3 separate regions of the Homo sapiens genome follow, and all the other regions are linked to region 3. Evidence: promoter capture Hi-C in 16 types of primary human blood cells and fetal thymus (Javierre and others, 2016). All regions are on one chromosome and are shown on one strand. The core of a region is centred on a gene start or on the middle of the fragment in contact, and the rest is flanking DNA. Distances in the headings are between cores, read along the strand shown. Region 1 holds the start of ZKSCAN1 (zinc finger with KRAB and SCAN domains 1). Region 2 holds the start of MCM7 (minichromosome maintenance complex component 7). Region 3 overlaps PILRA (paired immunoglobin like type 2 receptor alpha).

Region 1 (2,700 bases), core at 136-2,635, 380 kb after region 3:
CTGAAATAATAAACAAGAATCTTATATGTTAATTCAGAGAAGATACAAACCTGGATACACATTCTGGGGCAAATCACCATGGTTTCCTATGTAAAACAGCGATTTCTCCACATTTGTTCAGCATATATACTAACAGTGCTTTGCTGATGTGGTTACAATGAATTCTCCACAATTCAATTCAACAAGTATTTATTGACCGCCTCCAATCCGCCTAGCACTGGCCCGTACAATAAATGCTTTCTTTGGTCCCAGGCCATGGAACAGCCACTCTCTATAATGAAAGTATCTTACTGTGTACAGGGGGCACTGCAGGAAAGGGAGGGGAGGGATGGAGGAGTGTCAAGCTAAACTGTAGTTAATTCTTCAATTACATTGACCAAATCATTTCGAAGTCGGAAGGGCCTTTTGAGAAAATCCAGTTAGTTTTTATTGATGACGAAATTAAGACTTGGTGAGTGTCTCGTCTTATCCAAGGTCACTCAGCTAATCAGTCTCCTAGTGACACAGTGCAATTTCCACAAATTCCCTTCACTTCTCACCCCACTCCATGTCAAACAGAGCAACTATCCAGAATTGAAAAATCCACCTAACGTCCCGGACAGCTCTTTTCCAAAGCCTTCAAAGCATTCCATCAAGCTGAAAGAGTGGGGTGTATATAATCTCTACTAGATCCCAATCACCTATTTATCCACTATGACTAGGCTTCAAATACTCTTTAATCACCGCTCAGTGATGAGGGTGGGAGAAGGAAAGGCAGGTCTGGAAACGTATGCGGCACCTCAAAATGTGTCCATCTCTCATCCTTCCGCTCATTTCACCTCGAGGTCCCGAAGGAACCGGGGGGGGAAAAAGACACCTCACCGGAATCAAAGCAAATGGCGACTAAGGGAGAGCAGAAAAATCAAGACCGGGGTCGGTTCGCTCGCGACCCCGTTTGCAGAAACGTCAAAGGGCGATGACGACACTGCGGGAGAGGGGCCCACAGACGGCTTCTCCCCGGGTCTCCGGGCACCCTCAGCCACTGAAACCCTCGCCCCCTCCCCGCCTGATCCTGGGGGTGGGGCGGGGACGTCTCCCAGGAAGAACGGCGCTTTCTACGGCCGGGCCCGGCCAGGAGGCAGGGGCATGGACTCTCTTCGCACAACAGCGGGGCCGCCTGGAGGGGGTCCCAGGGCCGCAGCTGCGGAGCCCACCCTCGCGCACACACCCTTGCGGCCCCGCCCTCCCACCCCAGAGGCCGGCCCCAAGTCTCACCGTGAGCCCCGGGAGCGGCCTGGGGGCGCTGGGCGAGAAAGGGGAGCTGACTCTGGGGCTCAGGCCGGCCGAAGGGCACCGCACACGGACTTAGGCCCTCCCGACGCCTCGACACAGACACAATGAGTCACAAAGGCCGGAAGCGTGTCACCACCTCGTCTTCCGGGACCGCGCCGCGCTTCCGGGTCCTCTCTAGGAGCGCGGGAGGACTTTGCATCTCGGTTTCCGAATCGCTGGACCAGGCGCCTGCCCTTGAGTTTTCAAGCCTCCAGCTTGGAGGATCAGGTCCCAGTCCGCCCCTAGTTAATGCAGGGACTAACGGGAGCAGGTGGTGGGGGGTTTCAGGCTTTCCCCTACTCAAACTCAAACAGACTCTCCAGCTCAGACACCAGTCCATGTGAAAGTTCGATTTCACCTGTCTTTTTCATCTCAGGCAGTCCTTGTAGTAATTATAGTTATTATCAAGCAATATAGTACTTGGTAATTGTATGTCTGTGGCAAAGGAACTGAAACAAGGATGTAGACTGAGGAAGATCAAAGTGAAGCCAAGGGTGGCTGGTTTCCCAAAGCTGCCACGGTAGCTTCTCTCAGGGCCCTGGAGCTATATGGAGTGGTATTTTCAAATACTTGGCCCGTGGACAAGGGATGTCTTTCCACAAGCAAGCATAGTTATAAGGTTCTGTGCTTTGCTCATGTGGCATATGCTATTATAGCCGTTTAAAAGGAGTTTTCAGAGTAACAACAGACACTTTTACCTTCAAAGTGCTTTCACAACCTACCACAGTTACAGCCTTCATCTTTGCCTTGCAGGGTAAGGCACGCATAAGAGGGGGCCACGTTGTGCAAGGGTGGGGGGGACTACAGGCTTTAATGGTTGTGACTTTCCACTATGTTCCGAGACAAGTTCATGGGAGAAACTCAGTAGCTTGGTTGCATGACTCTTACTGCTTGGAGAGATTTACTTTTTTTTTTTAGATGGAGTCTCGCTCTGTCACCCAGCCTGCAGTGCAGTGGCACCATCTTGGCTCACTGCAACCTCCACCTCCCAGGTTCAAGCGATTCTCCTGCCTTAGCCTCCTGAGTACCTGGGACTACAGGCGCACACCACCATGCCTGGTTAATTTTTGTATTTTTGGTAGAGAACAGGGTTTCACCATATTGGCCAGGATGGTCTCGATCTACTGACCTTGTGATCCACCCGCCTCAGCCTCCCAAAGTGCTGGAATTACAGGCGTGAGCCACCGTGCCCGGCCAGATTTACTTTTTAAAAAATGTTTGAAAACTAAAAAGCAATGACAGGGCCAGACACGATGACTCAAGCCTGTAATCTTAGCACTTCGGGAGGCTGGGACGGGAGGATTCTTGAGCCCAAGAGTTGGAGACCAGCCTAAGCAACGTAATGAGACCCTCTCTCTACAAAAAATACTAAAATTAGCTGGGTGCAGG
Region 2 (2,700 bases), core at 53-2,552, 290 kb after region 3:
AATGAAATGACGGCCATGGTGATGCTGAGACACAGGCAGGGAGAAGAGAGGCGTTAAAAAAAGGGAGGTGGAGTGATCAGAACCCAGGAGACCTGAGCTCGGATCCCGATGCCTCTTACTAGTCACAACAGCAGTGCCTTTGGGAGATACATGACATATGCCTGGGCCCAGCTTCCCAATGTGGAAAGGGGGTTAATTACACTAACTACCCCGAGTTGCTGAGGATGGAGTCACGCAGGGAGCTGGGCCTGGTGTGTTGCTGGCGCCCATTGACTCTTTTTTTTTTTTTCCCCACCCCCACCTACCCCGAGAGGGAGTCTCGCTCTGTCTCCCAGGCTGGAGTGCGGTGTCCGGATCTCGGCTCACTGCAACCTCTGCCTCTTGGATTCAAGCGATTCTCAAGCCTCAGCTTCCCGAGTAGATGGGATTACAGGCGCCCGCCACCACGCCCAGCTATGTTTTTTTTTTTTTTGTATTTTTAGTAGAGGCGGAGTTTCACCATGTTGGCCAGGCTGATTTCGAACTCCTGACCTCAGGTGATCCGCCCGCCTCGGTCTCCCAAAGTGCTGGGATTACAGGCGTGAGCCACCGCGCCGGGCCTCACGTTAGCTTTATTTGGCGGAATGCACCCCCCAAGTGGAATCTACCAATGAACCAGTCCTGGGAGGGAGCTGGCGCCCACCCGGCCCGACGGGACCCCGCTCCTCACCCGCCTCCCGCCACTGGTTACCATGACAACCGGGGACTCGTCTCCTGGCAGTCCCGTCAGCTTCCGGTAGAAGAGCTCGGCCACATCCCGGCCGCCACTGTCCCCGCGGACTGGCGGGTGGAAGGACTCAGTGAAGGATCCTGCGACACAGGCTGGCCCTGGGCGCCCCTCCCGCCCGGCCCCTCCGCCCCTTCCCAGCCCCAAGGGTCTAGGATACAGTCTTTGTAGATGAGCGGGTCCCCCTTGGAGGACAGAATGAAGAATTGGGAAATCATGGCCGTTCTGGAGAGTAGACAAGAAGACGGCGAAAGTCGGGCCTGCCCCGCCCTGCGGCCCCGGAACAAAAGAACGCGTGTGCGCTGGCCCTTTAAGAGCGATTCTCCTCCGCCCGCGCCAGCTCGGACCGCGGGAAACCCGGCGCCTGCACTACCCCGCCCGGAGATTCCCTTCCGACGCCCGCACCGCCTCCCCGTCACTCATTCTAGGCCCGCACGGTGATTGGCTTGCGGCTAGCGGGAGGTGAAGAAGGCCGCCTTGTCCGATTGGCCCGCACGCAGTGGCGCCGGTCACGTGGGGGGCGACGTTTCGCGCCAATTTCGGTTGGCCGGCCACAGTCCACCGCGCGGAGATTCTCAGCTTCCCCAGGAGCAAGACCTCTGAGCCCGCCAAGCGCGGCCGCACGGCCCTCGGCAGCGATGGCACTGAAGGACTACGCGCTAGAGAAGGGTACGGGTCTACGAGCCCGGGAGGGCGTCCTGCGCGGGGAGCCTCCCGGGGAACACCTGTTGGTGTGAGCTGGGGTCTTGGGGGACCGGGGTCGGCGGGTTCTGGGGTGCGCGAGGCCAGAGGCAGGGTCGAGCTGCGGCCTGGCTAAGGCCCACGGGGCCTGGGAAGCGTGCGGGGGGCCATCGATGTTGAAGAAAAGCTAGTAATCCCACCTGGTAAAGGTGTTAGGGTCGTGGGGTTGGGGGCTTGGGGGCGCGCTAACCCGGCTGGGGGCTGCACAGGGAAAAGTCGCGCCCAGGACCTCAGGAGAGTCTTAAGGGCTCTGGGCTCCCGTGCCCGCTTTCCTTCGCGCTTTTGGGCATTCCCAGGTTCCCGCGCCCTCCCCAGGCGCGCGTAGGCCCCGGGGGCGGGCAGGCCGGGGCCGCTGCGCGCCGGGATTGGCCGTTTGAGGCCGCCCTCCGAGCGGAAGTGGAGCCGGGCGGAAGTGGCGCGAGGAGGCTGGAGGGAGTGTCGTGTAAACAGTGTCCTTCCGCGCGGCGGCCGCGGAGAGAGCTGCGGCCCGGGGGGGCGTGCCTGGGATCCGGAGCTTCGCTCGGGCCCGGGAAAGGCGGCAGTGGGCTGGGATCGCGGTGTCTCTGGGTGTGATGGCCAATGGCTGGACTGGCTCCCGCCCTGGGCGGAGGAATCCCGAGCTGTGAAGCGGCTGGAATCCGGGCCCATGTGCTTCTTTGTTTACTAAGAGCGGAAGCGATGGCGGGAGCGGGGGTGGGGTGCGGTGGCGGGGTGCGGTGGCGGAGGTCCCGGTGAAATCAGGGGCTAAGGGGACCCAAAGAAGGCGGGGGATCATAGGGGTGGAAAGAAAGCTGAGAACCTTGAGACCGGAGTGTGAGGGGCCAACGGGGAAGGGCGCTAGAATTTTAAACTAAAGTAGGGACCGGAATTCCCCTGGGGAGATGTTGGATGGCCCTGTGCACTGCCACGGGCTCTTTATTCTTCGCTGGTTAGAAACAGACTTGTGAAAAAGAGTTATGCCCACTTTGGGGAGACTTCGGTAGGTTTATTTAAATGCTCATATTATTAATTAGTTCATAGGTCGTGTTTTAAGCGAAAATGGGTATCTAAGATTTGTCTTAAAGTTTGTGTCTTACGGTTTTACATTTCATGTTACAGAAAAGGTTAAGAAGTTCTTACAAGAGTTCTACCAGGATGATGAACTCGGGAAGAAGCAGTTCAAGTATGGGAACCAGTTGGTAAGTCTAAGATTG
Region 3 (2,700 bases), core at 152-2,651:
CTTCACCCTGACCCCCTCCCTTGGTTTCTTTCTCTCTTGAGCTCTCTGCTCAGCCCCAACCTGGCTCCCTCCACCGCTGAGCCCTCGCCCAGTCACTTCTCCCCTCCCCTCCCCTTCCCTTGACATTGGCACCCCGCCCCCATTCCCTCCAGGTCCTCAGGGAGACCGTGCCTGTGCTTTCCTTCTGGGTGGCGGCTATGTCTGCCCTCCAGCCTTGGGAGCGTCGTGCTTGGGACTCATGTTTGTGGCTGTTCAAATTCTGTTGCCACCACTAGGCTTCCCCTCCCCTCTGGCTGGTCCCACCCTGAATCCTCTGCTGCCTCTCCCATTGTGTCCTGCCCCTCCCATCCCCGTGGCATCCTTGCAGTGTTTCCCAAGCAGTGGGCTCCTGGTCCACAGACATCCCCTCCACCATCTAGCCTCCTCCCAGGAGGGCTCCATGTCCACAGAGACACCCTCTGAACCCAGGCCTTGAGGTACCCCTCAACTCCAGGGACCTCCCCTTCCACTTCTACAGGACTTTTTTTTTTTTTTTTAATGTTTAGACTGAGAACTCTGAAATATTAATTGCTAGTATCATTTCCATGCTGCAGCTTTCTTTCCAGCACTCTTCTGTCCCTCTGTTTTTTCCCTCTCTTTAGGTTATGTTTTATTTTACTTACGGTAAAAAAAAAACAAAAAAACAAACAAAACACTAGAATTCACTTTTAACCACGTGTACAGTTCATTAGTGTTAAGTATATTCACACTGTTGTGAAACATCTCCAGGACCTTTTCATCTTGCAAAACTGAAACAGTTTTAAAGAACCCCTACTCCCTCCTCCCTGCGGTTTCTGACAGCCACCATTCTACTTTCTGTTCCTATTAATTTAATATCTCTAGGCACCACCGAAAAGTGGAATCATACAATATTTGTCATTTTGTGACTGCCTTATTTCACCTAGCTTGATGTCTTCCAGTTTCGTTTATACTGTAGTATGTGTCAGAATTTCTTTTTTTCTTTATTTTTTGAGACAGAGTTTCGCTCTTGTCACCCAGGCTGGAGTGCAGTGGTGTGATCTAGGCTCACTGTAACCTCTGCCTCTCTGGTTCAAGCGATTCTCCTGCCTCAAGCTCCCAAGTAGCTGAGATTACAGACGCCCATCACCAGGCCTGGGTAATTTTGTATTTTTAGTAGAGACAGGGTTTCACCACGTTGGTCATGCTGGTCTCGAACTCCTGACCTCAGGTGATCCACCCACCTTGGCCTCCCAAAGTGCTGGGATTACAGGTGTGAGCCACTGCACCTGGCCCAGAATTTCTTTTAAACACTGAATAATATTCCATTATATGTATAAACCACATTTTGTTCATCCATTCATTCATTGATGGACATCTGGGTTGCTTCCACCTCTTGGCCATTGAAAATAGTGTTGCTATCAACATGGGTGTATCAATATCTCTTCAAGACCTTTCTTTTCAGTTCTGTTTGGTATGTACCCAAAAGTGGGATTGCTGGATCGTATGGTAGCTTTATTTATTTATTTATTTATTTATTTTGAGATGAAGTCTCGCTCTGTCATCCAGGCTGGAGTGCAGTGGCACAATCTCAGCTCACTGCAACCTCTGCCTCCCGGGTTCAAGTGATTCTCCTGCCTCAGCCTCCTGAGTAGCTGGGATTACAGGTGCCCGCCACCACACCCAGCTAATTTTGTATTTTTAGTGGAAATGGTGTTTCACCATGTTGGCCAAGCTGGTCTCGAACTCCTGGCCTCAGGTGATCTGCCACCTCAGCCTCCCAAAGTGCTGGAATTTGAGGTGTGAGCCACCACTCCTGGCCTTTATTTTTAAATTTTTGAGGAAAGGCCATGCTTTTTTTCTGTATCATTTGCACTATTTTATAGCCCCCATCAACAGTGCGCAAGGGCCCCAATTTCTTCACATTCTTCCCAACACTTGTCATTTACACACTTTTTAAATAGTAGCTGTCCTTCTGGGTATAAGGAGATAGCTCTCTGTAGTTCTGATTTGCATTTCTCTGATGATTAGTTGGCCATTTTCATCTGCTTGTTGGTGATTTGTATACTGTCTTAGTCTATTTTGTGCTGCTAATGTATATAAGAATATCTGAGCCTGTATAATTTATAAAAAAACAAATTTGTTTCTTCTGTTGGACAAGAGGTTGCTGAAAAGTAAAACAAAGCAAAGCAAAGCAAAAATTATTTCTCACAGTTCTGGAGGCTGGGAAATCCAAGATCAAGGTGCCAGCATCTTGCTTTTTGCTGTGTCTTTCAGAGGGGAGGATTACTGTGTCCTCACATGGCAGAAGATTAGAAGACAGTGAACCCACTCCTGAAATCCCTTTTTATAATGGCATTAATCCGTTTGGCAGAGCCGTCATGACCTAAGCACCTCCCAAAACACACTACCTCCCAGTTGTCACACTGGGGACTAAGTTTCCAATACATGATTTGAGGAGACACATTTCAGACCATAGCATATATCATCTCTGGAGAAATGTCTGTTAAAATCCACTGCCCACTTTTAAATTGGGTTGATTTTTTTGTTGTTGAATTATAGGAATTTTTATATATTTCAGATTTTCACTCCTTATCAGATATATAATTTACAAATATTTTCCCCATTCTATAGGTTGCCTTTTGATTCTATTGATTGTGTCCTGTAATGAAAAAACATGTTTAAGTTTAATGTTGTCCTATT

The links. The method cuts DNA at HindIII sites, captures the fragments that hold promoters and counts their contacts. A CHiCAGO score of 5 or more calls a contact.
Region 1: the fragment with the promoter of ZKSCAN1 here is called in contact with a fragment that was not itself captured in region 3 in 1 of 17 cell types (non-activated CD4 T cells); the score reaches 5.1 in non-activated CD4 T cells.
Region 2: the fragment with the promoter of MCM7 here is called in contact with a fragment that was not itself captured in region 3 in 1 of 17 cell types (total B cells); the score reaches 6.2 in total B cells.

Annotation. Positions count from the first base shown.
Region 1 is chr7:100,014,281-100,016,980 of GRCh38, reverse strand. It overlaps ZKSCAN1 (zinc finger with KRAB and SCAN domains 1), which reads right to left and starts at 1,385. Exons shown (of 6, transcript NM_003439.4): 1 at 1,255-1,385. RefSeq lists a silencer at 1,130-1,299. The HindIII fragment of the contact is 19,683 bases long and covers 1-2,700 here.
Region 2 is chr7:100,099,999-100,102,698 of GRCh38, reverse strand. MCM7 (minichromosome maintenance complex component 7) reads left to right here and starts at 1,302. Exons shown (of 15, transcript NM_005916.5): 1 at 1,302-1,435; 2 at 2,606-2,685. The coding sequence starts at 1,405. It overlaps AP4M1 (adaptor related protein complex 4 subunit mu 1), which reads right to left and starts at 1,056. Exons shown (of 15, transcript NM_004722.4): 1 at 927-1,056; 2 at 731-819; 3 at 1-24. The coding sequence starts at 984. RefSeq lists enhancers at 978-1,027, 1,050-1,602, 1,948-2,107 and a silencer at 1,738-1,837. The HindIII fragment of the contact is 6,263 bases long and covers 1-2,700 here.
Region 3 is chr7:100,394,963-100,397,662 of GRCh38, reverse strand. All of the region lies in intron 3 of PILRA (paired immunoglobin like type 2 receptor alpha), which reads right to left. Among named protein-coding and RNA genes, the nearest start is that of PILRA, 23 kb to the right of the region's middle. RefSeq lists an enhancer at 759-808. The HindIII fragment of the contact is 3,900 bases long and covers 1-2,700 here.